2 separate regions of the Homo sapiens genome follow, and region 2 is linked to region 1. Evidence: promoter capture Hi-C in 16 types of primary human blood cells and fetal thymus (Javierre and others, 2016). All regions are on one chromosome and are shown on one strand. The core of a region is centred on a gene start or on the middle of the fragment in contact, and the rest is flanking DNA. Distances in the headings are between cores, read along the strand shown.

Region 1 (7,742 bases), core at 4,465-6,964:
TTATTGTCTACCTAAATTATCTGGATATTTCTTCCCTTTTCTTGCTCCTCAAAACCCGGCGAGAGACACGGAGTGCTTTGTCTTAAAGTTAGTGGAGTACATTGTAATTTGGGGGCTAAAACTGGACAAATAGTTGCAACATAGAGGAAATCCTCACCCAGATGGAGAGCTCAGCTGCGACCTAAGTATTGGGATCGCGGTTCCAACCGTGACCTCCTCTTTGGCCGGGAGACCCAACGATTTGTTTTTCAGTCATAGGAAGGAGGCAACATCCTTCTCTGGCAACATCCCCAGTGTTTGCGTTGAGTCTCTGGACCTGCAGAGACACCACCCAACTAGGTGCCTTCTCTCTCAAATTGGGAGTATCTCTGGGAATAAATTAAAGGCCAGTTATTTGCGGCCTTCCTAAGTCCTCCTTTTTCTTTTGCCAGAGATGTCCCTATTGTTGACCCTTCCTGTGTAGACACGTCATAAGAGTCAGATATTCTTTTGCCTTGATTTCCTGGTATTCTGACTCCTCCTACCCTCCTCTATTCAGACCCAGGCTCAAACACCAGGCCCCTCCCCCAGCTCATGGCTGCCCAAGCTGCCCGTCTTCGGTCGATGCTGCACTCTGTGGGGCATTTATATGAGCAACCTAAGGCTTTGGGTCTCCTTCCTGTCCGTACTCCTCAGCTTCGCAAAGCAACTGGGGATTAGGGGTAAAAAAGAGAATGGTATTTGATCTAAATTCGCTAGTTTATCTAATTATAGGAATAAAAAAGGGGAAGGAAAGAGAGATTTCAGGGCAGGAGGTGTGGCTCAGAGTCTGGACTTGGTGGGGGCCCCTAGGATTCTGGTACAGGAGGGTGGAAGAGGAATTTGGAGGAGACTCCTTTGATAGGAGCTTTACAGTTAGAAAAGGTAACTGGAGAGAGGGGAGGGAAGAGGCAAAAGGGTAAGAAAGAGAGAGGGCATGTCTTACCAAAGGAAGGGGTAGGTGGAGGTGCAGAGGGTTCATGGGCACATCTGGACTCTACCACTGGCCTGGGCCTGGGCTTTCCTCTGGCATGGGCTAGAGGGAGTCGCTGGCTTCAAAAGGTGGAGCCTATTTTGCCAGTTCCAAGGGGTCTTTAGCCCCTTCTCAACATCTTGCAATACACAAGCGTCATCTCAGAGTGAAGCCATAGGATTAAGACCACACGGTTGAAGCTCTAGGCCCACCAACCCCCCTCCATCTCAGCCCCGGGATTATGGGTTACTCTTACTGCCCCAGTATCCAGCTCAGCTCACCAGTGCCCCTATCCTGGCTTCTATTTGTCAAGTTCCTGAAGCACAGACCTCCTTTTCTGAAGCTGGTTTCAACCTCCTTTAGGCTGTCCACATTATTTTTATGGCCCCATGACTTCTCAAAGCTCCCTCTCCTCCCCCAAGTCTGCCACCCCCCAATTTTCTCTCTGCTATAATTGCTTGGGACTGGAGATGGTAGCTCATCAACAGATCTTGGTTGCTTATGTATTTTTGTTGCCCCTGCAACCACTCTTCCTTCATTATTATTACACATTTATTATTTTTATTATTCACCTGAGCTGGAGAAAATAAAGTGGAGAACAGCTAAGAGGCTGGGACTCCCATTATTTTGGGGTAGAACTTTTGTTTTCAAAAAATCACATAATCATAATTCATGTTTTAATTATTATTATTATCAATATTAATATGATGAAGCAACTCTGTACAAGGACTATATAAAGGGAAAACGTGCTAAAGACAGACGTTGGAATAGGAGAATTACACTACAGAGAGCTGGGGAGGCAGCTAGGGGAAGGGCAACTATCCACAGGGACTACACTAGGTACCAGCGACAGACACAGAGAACAAGACACAGATTGACAGAGAACCTCACAGAAGTCAAGTTTAAAGCAAATGGAAAGAGAATATTGCATATCTTTGTCCCCTCACTCCTTTTAGAGTGTTCTGGTCCCTCTTCATTATTAGATTGGGAATCAGGTTAGTCTGGAGTGGTAGAGCTCAAATCCAGCACCCTAGAGCCCAGAGGTCACAGGAAGGGCTGCATAAAGGGGGTACAGTGGGTGACCAGTCAAGGTGGGGAGTGCTTCATGCCCAGGGGAAGACCACAGGAGACTGCAGACAGCTGGAATGGTGGTAATTTGGGGGAACTTGTACATGGGTGAAGCAAGTATGTGTGGATGGGGAATTGTCAGGTGTCAGATACCCAGCGGGGGATGGAGGCATGTGATTTTATCTCCATTCTGCTGGGCCATGTGGGGATTATGAGGCTGCCTGCTTGCGAGTGCACTAGGGAGAGTGGGGTGGGCCCAGTGCTGTGCTGGGCTCAGCTGTGTGTATGTGTTTGCCTTTGCCTCTGCCTGTACAGAAGCTGTGTGCTGGTGGGAGAGTAAAAAGCTCGGTGGATTGCCTTTGGAGAGTTTGTTAGGGGAGACTCTCCCCATATGGGAAACACTCCAAGCCAGCAGGCCAGTTTCACACTGTCCAGGCTGCAGTTAACTCCCATCAGTGCCCTGCTTCTCACCCCTCTTGCTCCTGGAAAGGGCCGGACAGCAGATGGGAGGCTGGGGGACTCTTGGGGAGAAGGATAAAAATGAAGTACAGAAAGGTTGATGGTTCTCTCACTGCTCCTCTCTTCCAAGCCAGCCCAGCGTCTACTGGGCTGGGGCTGGGGTCTGAAGGAGTCTGGATGAAAGTCCTTCCCACTCAGAGAAGCCATTCTCAGACCTCCAATGGGTTCTAGGGCTGTGCCCCTCCCTCTGCTCTGGTCCATGTGCTAGGCTGTGGAGGTTTGCAGGCCAGGAGGCGGAGGCAGCCCTTCTGAAGACAAAGGGCAATGTTGGGGGGCGGGCGAGGAAGAGAGAAGGGAGTTGGGTGGGGGGCTGGAGCGCCCCCCTCCTTCATTCTCACGGGCCTGGGAAACTGGGGCTGAGTGGGACCTCAATGGCTGGTAGCCCCTTTAAGGGTGAATTCTCCTCCCGCCTCGTAAATTACGCTGGTCCACCCTCTGGCCGGCCCGTGAGGCAGTGACCGTGAACGCCAGCGGGGAAGGGAGAATCAGAGGCCTCGGCTGTGGCTGTCAGAAATTCTCCCGGCCAATCAGTGTGGTGCTCCGTAGCCCCATCTACAGCCTCTTGCACTTTCTTTCTGGAGAGCCAGCTGGGGACCTCTGGGGTGGCTACTGAACCTGAGGCTGTGTCCCCTGGGCTCTCAGGTCCCTGCTTGCTGCATCAGGCCTGCAGCCACCGCAGGCAACGGAGGAGTGGATGGCAGCACACCTATGAACAGACATTCGCCCGGTGCGGGCAGCGGGATCAGGAGAGGGCTGGGGACCAGGACACTGTTCTGGTCCTAGAGGGAACATGAGGCTGATAGTCCTTGTCCACAGCCCGGCCAGCCAAATGCCCAAGCTTCTGCCCACTGGGTGTCCTGGGGGACCCAGACCCAAGCAGACTCTGGTTCTTGCTAATCATTTTCTCACAAACCACACTTCCTCCTTGGTTCCCCACTTCCTCCAGCCCTACCAGAGACACCTGACTCCCTCAGCTCTCTCCGCTGACCCTCCACCCTCCTCTCTCTTCCCAGCCTCTTCTAACCCCAGGAACTGTGAGGTTGAGGTGCCTTGGTTCCACTGGCCCTGCTCTTTGCTCCTGACGGCAAAGAGAATTAAGACCATGGAAGGGAAGTAGAGGAAGGGGACATCTGGGCCGCTGCTTCTCCAGATCCTCAGCGGAGGTGCAGTGCCCCAGTCCTGCCTCAAATAAACCAGCCCGCAGCACCTCAGCCTTCCTGCCCCTGCCAACCGCAGGCAGCTGCCGGCTTCTGCTCTCCCTGGCTAGGTTTCTTCCCTTCTCTCTGGGACCTGGCAGGGTGTTTTGGGTGTGTATGGGAGGGAACCACGAACAAAACAGACAAGAGGATATCCAGGGAGGGCCTGCCAGAGACGCCTGGCGTTCTAAGTGGGGACTGTGTTCTAGGCGGCGCCCTCTTTTGCTCTCTGCCAGGGACAGGCTCAGTCTGGGGCTGGCGCCCGTGTCCTGCACCTTAAAAGAAGGAGAGAGCTTGCTCCCTCAACAGAAGTCTTTTCTTTTTCATTCTCCGGTTCTGAAACCAGATCTTGACCTGCTGGTCACTAAGATTCAAGCGGTCTGAGAGTTCCCTCCGGCGCTGGCGTGTGATGAACTCGTTGACCAGAAACTCGCCCTCCAGCTCTGCCAGTTGCAACTTCGAATAGGGCTTGCGCTTCTTCCGAGAGCGGCTGTTGATCGGGTACCAGGGCGCGCCTGGGTGGAGATGAATGGCAGGGGTTGGCCAAAGGATCAAAGGGTGACCAGTCCAGTGCCCTTGGCCCTTCCCCAGACCCTTTCACCTTCGCCTCACAGCTGGACTCCAGGCCCTTTCTCTCCCTTCTCCTTGCCGCCAGTCATCTGAATCGTCTTTTCTACCCAGACCCACATCCCCACCAACTCCCCCACTTTCTTTACTCTTTTTTTTCCTTTCATTCTTTGCTCTTACCTCCTCAACCCTACCTCCTGCTGCACTATTCATGACCCTTCTAAGTCCCTATCCCCTCCTTTTTTCCCAAACCTCTCCCCAATTTTCTTCTTCCCTATTTCCTGGTCCCTTCCTCTCACATCCTTCAGGACTGGATCCCGGATCAGTTACAACAGATATGGGCGAATGGCAGAGTAAACGCATCCACTGGCATTTCTTTCGAAATGTAAGTAATGGGGTCTGTGGGAAGGTGGAGGGAGAGGCGCCTGGGAGAACTAGGGCCGGGCTTTCTGTCCCCACCTCCTCACCCCCAGGCCTGGGGAGTCCCCGTCAGGATCCCCCAACTCCGGAATCCCTGCCGCCTCCAGCCGCAGGCAGACGAAAAAGGAACACTCTCCATTTCTTTTGTGGGGATGTTTACATGTTTATAGGCTCCCCCCACCCGCACTTCATTTTATAAGAAGCTCTTCCTCGCCACACATTCTGTCACCCTGGGCGTCCCTAGCTCAGTCCTGTTCTGCCCGCCCTGGTAAGAGGTCGGGTTTGAATCCGCCGCTTGAGTGGCCGGGGTCCTTACCGCTGGCCGAGAGCCCGCCGCCGGGGTTCAACGGCGATACCAAGCTGCCGGGGTCGCCTGCGCCGGCGCCCTTGTTGCCCTCGTTGAGCAGGGACGAACTGGAGTCGGATTCCAGCGACTGGCAGGAGGGCGGGTCGTGCGGAGGTCCTGCGCCGCCGCCGCCGTCGCCACCGCCGCCGCCCGCCGCGTAGTCGTACTTGAAGCCGAGCGCAGGCGGCCCCGACGGCTCCAGCGGGAGCAGCGCTGCCCCGGGCCCGGCTCCCGGGTCGCGCCCGCGCTCCTCACGCTTCAGGCCCCCGCCGCCACCCTCGGCGCACGGCTCGCGGTAGTAACCCTTGCCGTCCTCCACGCGCGCCAGCTCGCACGTGCGGCCGAAGGGAGGGTTGAGAGACACTGGGCTGCCGAGGTAGGGCTGCGGGTAGCCATTGCACGGCTCCGCCGACGGCCAGGACAGGGAGCACACGTTGTCGCGGCGTGGGTAGGACAGCGAAGGCAGCCCGGGAAGCTGCGCCCCGGACGCGCGGAAGTTGGGGAAGTAGAAGGTGTCTCCCGTGTGGATGTTTACCAGCGGCCCCACAAACCCGGGATTCAGGAGATTATGCTCGCCCATTTCCGCGGGGCCCGACCGGCAGCTTCTACTTTATTGCTATCTGACATTAAACATAGTTAAATCTGCACCAGTCACCCATTGGCCGCCCCACTCACGTGGGCACGGCCGCCAGGGGGAGGGGTGGGGACAACCGATCCCCCCCCCCCACCATCCCATCCCGCACTCTAACTTCCCCCTTCCCCAATCCTGGGGGTGAGTGGGGTAACAAAGGGCGGGGGCAGGTTTATTTGCTGAACTGATTTTCTAAAACAATGTATATAACCTAACGCAGAGAGTAAAGCAATTGCCCAACACGGGGCAAAAGGGAAAAAACACACACCAAAAAATGCCCGCATATATACACCCCTATAACCTGCACCCCCCCCCATATATTATCTTATCGCCAACAGCTGGCCAAGCACAGCCTGTCCCTCTTTAATTAGCTTCTTTATTAACTAAAACCGTTGGAATTTACAATATCTCCTCAATAAATTACTATTAGATATTGTGTCATATAAAGTTTACTGACTGTTTAAGGAGACGGATGAGCCCTTTGGCTCGGGGTTTATTTACAGTAGAGGCGAAGTGGGGGTAAGGACAGGTTTCCCTGCCGTTATCTCTTCCCGCCCCAGCTGCTGCTGCACACTTCTTTATCAGCTCTTTATCCTCAGGAATTTGGAGAGACATTTGGAGTCCTCTTCCCCAATACTCAAGGATAATTGATAATGCCGGGTTTTCCTCTGGAGCCGGGAGCCACCCAGCCTCACACCTCCACTCACGGCTAGAGGAAGGATGCGGAAGGGAGGTAGAGAATGCAGCAAAAGGAGGTGCCTAGCTCCACATGGACCTGCCTGCCTGCTCCTGAAAATCTGGGGGCGAACTACTCTTCTGCTGTCATTTCCGGGGAACTGAGGAGCTTCTGGGGGCCTCCTGGAGTCTTTGCAGTGGGAAGCTTTGGACCCCTAACAGGGCTTGACTGGGCTGAGAGGGGCCTAATTCTCACTGCGGAGGAGACAACTGCACCCCAGAACCGGCCAAGCCTGCCCCTGGGACCATCAGATAGCAGTGCAGAGGCCCGCAGTAGGTTGCCTCCTGAGGGGGCTAGGATTGAGGGAAAAAACCCTTGAAGAATTATCTTATTGGGGGGTGAAATTATATTTATGGTGCAAACTCAGAAGCTCCCTCCAGAGAAGGCCGAGAAGCAATGCTGGCCATTGGTGAGATAATCAACATCTGCAAAACCACAATCCGATCTCAACTAGGTCCACAGAACACAGCCAAGCGGATTAAAAAGAAAGACAAAATAAAACTCCCCCAAACCAGATGTATCCTTTTGGGGTCTAATAGAAAAAACACTCGAATTTCCATGTGATTATTTCGAGCTTCTAACCAATGCATGGCTTAAGTAATACAGGGTTGGATAAATAGTTCAGTAAACGTCTAAATACGAAAAAATACCAGAAGATTGAAAGAAAATTGGAGACAGAGATTCGGAGAGAATGAGAAAGAAACCCATTTAGGTGAAAGTTAAATATCAGAGAAAGCCTGAGAATAAGCCAAAGCTGCAAAAGCAGATCGAAGCAGAGAAGATTCTCCCTTTTTTTCCTCTCCCTCCCCTCTCTCCTCTGCAGGACGCGGCAGAGAGAAACGCAGATTCTTTGAATTCCACCGCTCCCCGGGCGATTTCATATCCCAAACCGTAGCTGCTCACTCCGACAGAAATGTGTCCCCGCGGGCGCCGCCCTGCCCGGAGCAGTTCGAAGCTCGCAGCTCGGTGCCTGTCCCTTGCCCTGCTTGGCCGGTTCCCCTTCCCCGCCCCTGCTTGCCTAGCTGCCCGGCCTGGTCCAGCCCCTCCCGCCCCCAGGAGCCGGCCCCGCGTTAGGCGCACTTGTCGGAACTTAGGGCAAGCCATGGGCTGCAAACCCGAAGCCGCCACCTTCAGTTAGAGCCGGTGGCGCCAAGGAATGAGCAGGAGACTCAGCCTGGATTGGCCTTTTTGTGCCTAACTGATAAGGGGCTGGGAGGCTACGGAGAGGAGCATCTCTCAGCTGCAAATTCCAGGTCACAGCATCTGTA
Region 2 (7,644 bases), core at 4,632-7,131, 250 kb before region 1:
GCCCTGGCATTTCATCTCATCTCTGTTCTCTGGTTGACTCTGTTCCCAGCCCTCCAGGACTCAGAGTCACAGGTGTGATTTTGAATGGTCATTGACCAGTTGCATGGCCAGCTCACTATCCCTTTCTCCAGCTCAATCCGACCTTCCCATGACCTGAGCCTGGCTTTCTTCAGCAGGAGACCTTTAGGACAGACAACACCCAGAGGCTGACAGAGGGGACCTCCCTGTCTGAGAGGTCCTAGAACAGGAAAGTGGGGCTCATCCAGGCTGTGGGAATGGACCTTCTGCAGGAGCCAGACTGGATGGGGGCCTCTAGAACCTCCCCCCTGCATTCAGTGGCAGCATTCAGATTAATCTCTCCCCTGGCCTTCAGCTGGGAGTGTAGTGGAGTGTTCACAACCCTTGGTCTTTTCATGCCGATGATACTGTCTGTCCTTCTGGGAGGTCTGCTGGCCTCACATTTACCTGGAGAACGAGCTGCTCGTCAAGTTGCTTACCAGGGCAACCACACCACAGAGCAGGCGTGCAGAGCTGGGTCCTGCAGCTCTCCTGGCCCCAGATGGGGCTCAGGTGGCTGAGGGAATGACGGTATCTCAGCTCTCAGCTGGGACTCAGACTGGAGAAAATAGGAGCAAGCAGCTCTCTTCCTAGCCTTTTCCTGGGTACTTTAGGAAAGTTCCTGCCCCCTGGGTGGAGACCCGATAGTTGTTCATCCCATAAATGCCTACTGAGCACTGCCTATGTGTGAGGTGCTCTGATGGCCATGAGAGCTTGAGCCCACCTCAGGTCTGGGTGACTGAAAGAGGAGGGCTCTGTCCATGGGCCAGAGTGGGAGGGAGGTCCCAGCAGCACCAGACAGAGAGGAAAGGCCAGACAGACCTTTTCTGGAGTCAGGAGCTGAGGAGGCATGGAGGAGGAGTGAGATGCCTCCCTGCCCTCTCTAACTAACCCCCTCCTGCACATGGGGGTTCTGGTCTGTAGATGGTGAGCTGGGCAGGTTGCTCTCTCTGCCTCTCCTGGCCTCATTTCTGTACTTTGAAATATGACAGCATGAGGCTAAGCCAGGAGTTCTCAGGAGATGACTTAGAAGCACCTGGGAGCATTACAATTCTGATTCCTCGACCCCTCTGATCTAACTGCTCTGAGGTCCTGGGGTCAGGACCTAGCATTTGGTCCCCTGAGCCCTGCCTGATTCTAATGGGCAGCCAGGTGATGGGTAGTGGAGGCAGAAGGCTGGCGGACCTCCTACAACCCCTCCAGAAGGCTAAGGGGGCACCCAGGGCCCTTCCTGCTCTGTCAGGCTGCAGTTTGGGGGAAGCCACTGTGCTTGAGTTTTTATAGTGCTAGGCACTGAGTGGCGTTCATTTAGACCCCAGACAGGCGCTTACTATCCCCACTGTGGGAAGGAAGCTGAAGCCCAGAAAGGTAAGTGGAACAACCCTGAGCTTTTTATTTATTTATTTTTTATTTTCATTTATTTATTTATTTTTATTTTTTGAGATGGAGTTTTGCACTTGTCACCTAGCCTGGAGTACAATGGTGTGATCTCTGCTCACTGCAACTTCTGCCTCCCAGGTTCAAGCCATTCTCCTGCCTCAGCCTCCTGAGTAGCTGGGATTGCAGGTGCCTGCCACCACGCCCAGCTAATTTTTGTATTTTTAGTAGAGACAGGGATTCCCCATGTTGGCCAGGCTGGTCTCAAACTCCTGACCTCAGGTGATCCACCCACCTTGGCCTCCCAAAATGCTGGGATTACAGGTGTGAGCCACCGACCGCACCCGACCAATCCTAAACTTTTAAAATCTTAGGTCCCCACCACTGCAGGTCTATAGCGTTTTCCTCCACTTTCTCTGCGTTGGTTTCTCTTCTCTTGATGGACAAGACACTTTCTTTTTCCATCTCCTGCGCTCTTACCTACCTCTTCCTCTCTTCTCTCTCCCTCTAATCTCCAGAGAAGGTGCTTATCAACTATTTTCTGAGAAGTCCTCCCTGTCATCTGTCCCAAGTTTCTTCTCCAAGGAAAGTCCATATTCCCTGATCTCCCCTTGTAGGTGGGGAGGAGAGAGCGCTGCAGACATTGCCTCTGACTGTCACTGCTGTTCCTGGCTCCCCTGGCCTCCTGCTCCCTTCTTCTCATCTATCACCAGTTTTTGCCCTTCTTCCCTCTTCAGAATTCTTTGTTTGGTTTATAACAGAGGTAAAAAGCCAGAGTAATTAATTCCCAGAGAGAAATCCTCTCCAATTCCAGCAGGAAGGATTGAGGCTAGATGCCTGGAAAAACTTCCAAATAGCCTAAGTGAGTAGTTCTGAATAAGGGTGTGGATCCAAGGGGAAAGACTGGTCTCTCTCCAGGCTTATAATCCTCTTCTTCTTCCTGGTCCCCCCTTTACACATGCCCACAAACCCCTGCTAGGGTGACTTTGTGCCCATCCCCTGACCTCTTCATGAGTGCTGCCAGGGGCTCAGAGATCATGGGCTCCTCAGGGCCACACTGATGCTGAAGGATGGGTTGGGGCACCCTCCTGCCCTGGCCTTGACCATTGTCCCTGCTCTGGGCCCTGTGGCCTTACCATCCACTCCAACCGTCCCTCATCTTCTCAGGATGGGATGCTTGGAGGGTCTGTGTGTGGGAGATCTGAGGGTGTGCTGGGTCCATCTGTGGAGCCAGCCGTGTGTGTGGCTGTGCATGGGGTGAAGGCATACCTGGGGGTCTCGGTGTGCCTTTGCCTCAGCCCTTGCCCCAGAACTCCAGAAGGCCCCTCTGGTCTCTATCCTGCCTCTGGCCCTGGGGTCAGCTGGTAGGTGGGATGAGTTGGTGAGTGCACAAGCTTGGGAGAGCCACTGACACTATGAAGTAGGCATGCCGACACCTGAGGCTTCCCTGATGTTGCACTGAATGCCCTCAGGCCCCAGGCCAGATCTGCTGTCCACTATCTGGCTAAATGGGCCCTTACCAACCAGGCCCAACCTTCTGAAAGTAGGCACTGGTGGAGGATTGAAGGGCTGTGTTGGGGACCTTTTGGCTCTTCCTTCTAAGGGCTCCTAGTCTGCCTCCCTCCAGGAGCTCTGGAGTGGTGGGTTTCTAGATGGGCAGAACCCATCAGTCCCATCTGCACCCTCCATTGCAGGTCCAGAATTATTCTGTAGCGGGTCAGTTCCTGACCCCTCTCTCCACATCTTTGTTTTTTTTTTTTTTTTTGAGACAGAGTCTCTCTCTGTCGCCCAGGCTGGAGTGCGGTGGCGCGATCTCAGCTCACACGGCAAGCTCCGCCTCCCGGGTTCACACCATTCTCCTGCCTCAGACTCCCGAGTAGCTGGGACTACAGGCACCCACCACCACACCTGCTAATTTTTTGTATTTTTAGTAGAGACGGGGTTTCACCGTGTTAGCCAGGATGGTCTCGATCTCCTGACCTCGTGATCTGCCCACCTTGGCCTCCCAAAGTGCTGGGATTACAGGCATGGGCCACCGTGCTTGGCCCACACCTTTGTTTTTATTTTAATTTTATTTTTTGAGACACGGTCTTGCTCTGTCAATCAGACTGGAGTGTAGTGGCTTGATTACGATTCACTGCAGCCTTGACCTCCTAGACTCAAGTGATCCTTCTGCCTTGGCCTCCCATGTAGCTGGGACACAGGTGCGCCCACCGTGCCTAGCTTTTTTTTTTTTTTTTTTTTTTTTGTACAGATGAGGTCTCATGTTGTTGCCCAAGCTGGTCTCGAACTCTTGGGCTCAAGCAATCCTCCCACCCTGGCCTCCCAAAGTGTTGGGATTACAGAAGTTAGCCACTGCGCTTAGCCTTTATTGAACTCCTGGCCTCAAGTGATCTTCCAGCTTCAGTCTCCCAAAATGCTGAGATTATAGGTGTGAGCCACTGTGCCCAACTCTTCCCACATATTTGAAGAAGGGTGTTTGTTTGTTTGTTTGTTTGTTTGTTTTTTGAGATGGAGTGTCGCTCTATTGCCCAGGCTGGAGTGTAGTGGTGTGGTCTTGGCTTACTGCAACCTCCGCCTCCTGGGTTCAGGCACTTCTCCTGCCTCTACCTCCTAAGTAGCTGGGATTACAGGTATGCACCAGTACGCATGGCTAATTTTTGTATTTTTAGTAGAGACGAGGTTTCACCATGTTTGCCAGGCTGGTCTCAAACTCCTGACCTCAGGTGATCTGCCCGCCTTGGCCTCCTAAAGTGCTGGGATTACAGGCGTGATGGCGCCCGGCCTGAAGAGGAGTTTTAAAAATGATTCAAGTTCACGTACGGAACATTATCATTGCATTTGGTTCTTTCCACACTTCTTTAAGGTAAAATGGTGGGCCAGAGGGAGTTTTACTTTTTTTTTGAGACGGCGTCTCGCTCTGTTGCCTAGGCTGGAGTGCGGTGGCATGATCTCGGCTCGCTGCAACCTCCGCCTCCCTGGTTCAAGCGATTCTCCTGCCTCAGCCTCCTGAGTAGCTGGGACAGGCATGTGCCACCACGTCCAGCTAATTTTTGTATTTTTAGTAGAGACAGGATTTCACCGTGTTAGCCATGATGGTCTCGATCTCCTGACCTCGTGATCCGCCCGCCTCGGCCTCCCAAAGTGCTGGGATTACAGGTGTGAGCCACCGTGCCCGGCTTTTTCTTCCTTTTAATGAATGAGGTCACTGAGGCTCTGTGGGGAGGTGTGCCCAGGGTCACCAGATGGAGAGCGGCAGATTAGGAACAGAATGGGGTTAGCCTGTGTCCTCTTCCAGTGCTCCTTCTGGGCCCTACTCCTTCCTGATCAGGTGCCCTCGGGGCTGGGGCTGCCGATTTGGCCTCTCACAGAAGGTGGGGCCCTGGGTTCCCTGTCCTCTGCATCAGCAACCCTGGGCCCCAGCTCTAAGCACGGGTGTGGTGGTGGGAGGTGGAACTGCCTGTCCTGCCTCTGCACGGCCACAAGGGGGCTCCAGGACCAGGTTTTTCTTTTTGCTGGAGCTGCAAGGGTTCCCAGTAATCCCAGCACCCTGAGCTTTTCTGGAAGTGCCGGTTATCCTTCTGAAGCTGCCACTGAAGGGTCTCTGCCAGGCTGGGAGGCCATCAGAAAGGGCGCAGCCTTTGCACTTTATAATCCTATTCCAGAAGTACCTCCCTTTGCTTGGCTAGGAAGTCCTTCCAGTTGTCTACCCTCCATTTCTACTGCTACAGGCCGGGAGAGATGAGGCTGAGTGAGCCACTCTTCTTTCTTTGCTTACTACTCCCCTACCCAAGGCTTGAAGGGAAGTACTTGTTCTTGTCCCCATTCCCTGATCATTAGAGCTCAGACTGCTCTCCTGTCACTGCTAAGGGCTGGATAGACAGCAGCAGGAAAGATGTAAGTTAGACATCAGGAAGGACTTCCTGACAGAGAAGGCCATGGGCTGCTGGGTTTGAGTATCTGAGGAAGGCTGAACAAAGGGAAGTTGGCTGTTCATCTGGGGTGAGGCTCTGGGAAAAGTCCTCTGTGCTCCACACCCCGAAGCTATACATCCCTGGAAGTGGGGAGTGGGGCCTGGGTACAGTTATTTGCTACTGTGTCTCTCCGAACCTCAGGGAACCACAGATATTGCTGGCTCCTTGGGCTTCTGGGATGGGGAGGAGATCTGCGTGGGGGCTTACAAAGGGGTGGAAAGGAAAACACCTGAGCCACTCCCTCCCTTGGCTGGTGACCCAAGGCAGAGGGAAGGATGACATGATGGAACAGTTTGCTGCATCTACTTCAGTTGGCTTTCAGAGCCCCTGTGAGGTCTTCAGCTTCTTAGGTTATCATCAACCTACTGGGCAAAGACTGAGTCATGCGGGTGGAGTGCTTCTTGCGGCAGGTGGGGTGCTTCTTGCGGCAGGAGATGACGCTGCGCAGGATATGAAGGAGTCTGGTCCCCTCTGTTTTCTGCACCTTGACTTTCCAAGTGGGACATGAAATGTCATTTGCCTCTTCTGTCTTCAATGCTGAGGGGACCCTGGGGTCAAGGGAAGAGCAGGCCTTTGGAGTCAGACCTTACCTGTTGGAGCCGCATGGCGGACCGCTCTGTCTCAATCCCCGCATCAGAAGGGAAGGGTGGAATAAGAAATCCTACTTCCCAGGGCTGTGGTGAGCTTTGGGAGACGGCAGATGTGAAAGGGCCTCTGGGGGGGGGGGAGCACAGCACAGCAGGTGCTCCCGCCCAGACTCCTTTGTTCCTGGAGAAGGGGAGATGTGTCCATTTCCCAGATTGGAACATGGTGGCAGGAATGATACTAAGGCTCAAGGCCAGGATCTCTGCTGGACATGCTCCAGAGTCAAAAGTTTGGCCTCCCGCTCCCCTGGCTCCTCCTGTTTCCTCCCCTCCCTCTTCCCACAAGGCCCTTCTCTGGCTCTACTTTCTACCCTGCATCCACCTCTTTTCTTACTTTTTTTTTTTATTCTCCCTTCCTTCTTTCTTCCCCTTTCTCCTTCAGCTCTATTTCCTATTTCCTCTGTTCCTTTACTTTCCTCTCTTCCTCCCTTCCTTCCTTCTTTATTTTTTATGAGACGGAGTCTCGCTCTGTTGCCCAGGCTGGAGTGCAGTGGTATGATCTCAGCTCACTGCAACCTCTGCCTCCTGGGTTCAAGCGATTCTCCTGCCTCAGCCTCCTGAGTAGCTGGGACTACAGGCGCCCACCACCACGCCCAGCTAATTTTTTGTATTTTTAGTAGTGACGGGGTTCCACCATGTTAGCCAGGATGGTCTCGATCTCCTGACCTCGTGATCCGCCCGCCTTGGCCTCCCAAAGTGCTGGGATTACAGGCGTGAGCAACCGCACCCAGCCCCTTCCTTCTTTTACTAAGCATTAAGTTAGGTGAAAGAGATGATCAAGAGCACTAATGCACGTGCTGTACCCCCGATCATCTCCTGAGTTGTTTTCTTCTCAGTCTTTCTTTCTGATCTCCCCACTAGGCTGATGCTTCTGTTCTGTGGGCCTGGGATGGGAAGGAAGTTGATAATAAAATCTGGTTCAATTAAATGTGTGCCTGTATTTGTGTGTATCCTGGGGAGACAGCTGAATAGCACATGGTGGTCCTTGCCCTTGAAGGACTTGTGGCTAGGGAGGGAGGCTGCGGTGTCAGCAGCAGTGTGACAAGTGCTGCCTCAGACGTTTGAATAGGTTGCTGGGATCTGACGAAGAACATCAGAAAAGGCTTCACAGAGGAGGTGATGGTTGAGATGGGTTTTAAGGGATGAGCTGGAGTTTGCCAGGTTCAGCAGTGGGTGGAGAAAAAGGCAGTCCTGTCAGAGGGATTACCACAGGCAAAGACATGTTGCTAAGAAAGGGCAAGGAGAATTTAGGGAACCGGCAGTAGTTCTGTATGGCTGAAGCCGAGGGAGTCATGGGAGACTGAAATCCCAACCCAGAAGGGGAGCAACGATGCCCAATGGTCAGCTCACTAGCCATGCGAGAGTGGTGCAGAACAGGGCATTGCTCCCTGCTAAATGAATGACAAGGGGCAGTGGGAGCTGGGGGTGTGGAGAGGTGTGCCCTGGGCCTTCATCTCCTCCCTACTTGCTGGCTATTCTGCTCTGGGAAACCTACATTAACTGATCCTGGGCCTCGGTTGCCTCATCTATAAAACGGGGATGGTGAAGCCTTATCTCCTGAAGATGGGTAAGACAGACCTGATTTCTTTAGG

What was found. The method cuts DNA at HindIII sites, captures the fragments that hold promoters and counts their contacts. A CHiCAGO score of 5 or more calls a contact.
Region 2: a contact is called between a fragment that was not itself captured here and the fragment with the promoter of HOXC12 in region 1, in 2 of 17 cell types (naive B cells and total B cells). The highest score is 6.9, in naive B cells.

What each region holds. Positions count from the first base shown.
Region 1 is chr12:53,952,875-53,960,616 of GRCh38, reverse strand. HOXC12 (homeobox C12) reads right to left here and starts at 5,714. Exons shown (of 2, transcript NM_173860.3): 1 at 5,078-5,714; 2 at 1,661-4,289. The coding sequence starts at 5,687. The coding sequence ends at 4,051. It overlaps LOC105369775 (a long non-coding RNA gene), which reads left to right and starts at 4,190. Exons shown (of 3, transcript XR_944977.2): 1 at 4,190-4,275; 2 at 4,650-4,726; 3 at 6,338-7,232. The HindIII fragment of the contact is 3,202 bases long and covers 3,419-6,620 here.
Region 2 is chr12:54,198,772-54,206,415 of GRCh38, reverse strand. LOC105369777 (a long non-coding RNA gene) reads right to left here. Exons shown (of 3, transcript XR_944984.2): 3 at 4,083-5,956. Among named protein-coding and RNA genes, the nearest start is that of SMUG1, 14 kb to the right of the region's middle. The HindIII fragment of the contact is 6,102 bases long and covers 2,831-7,644 here.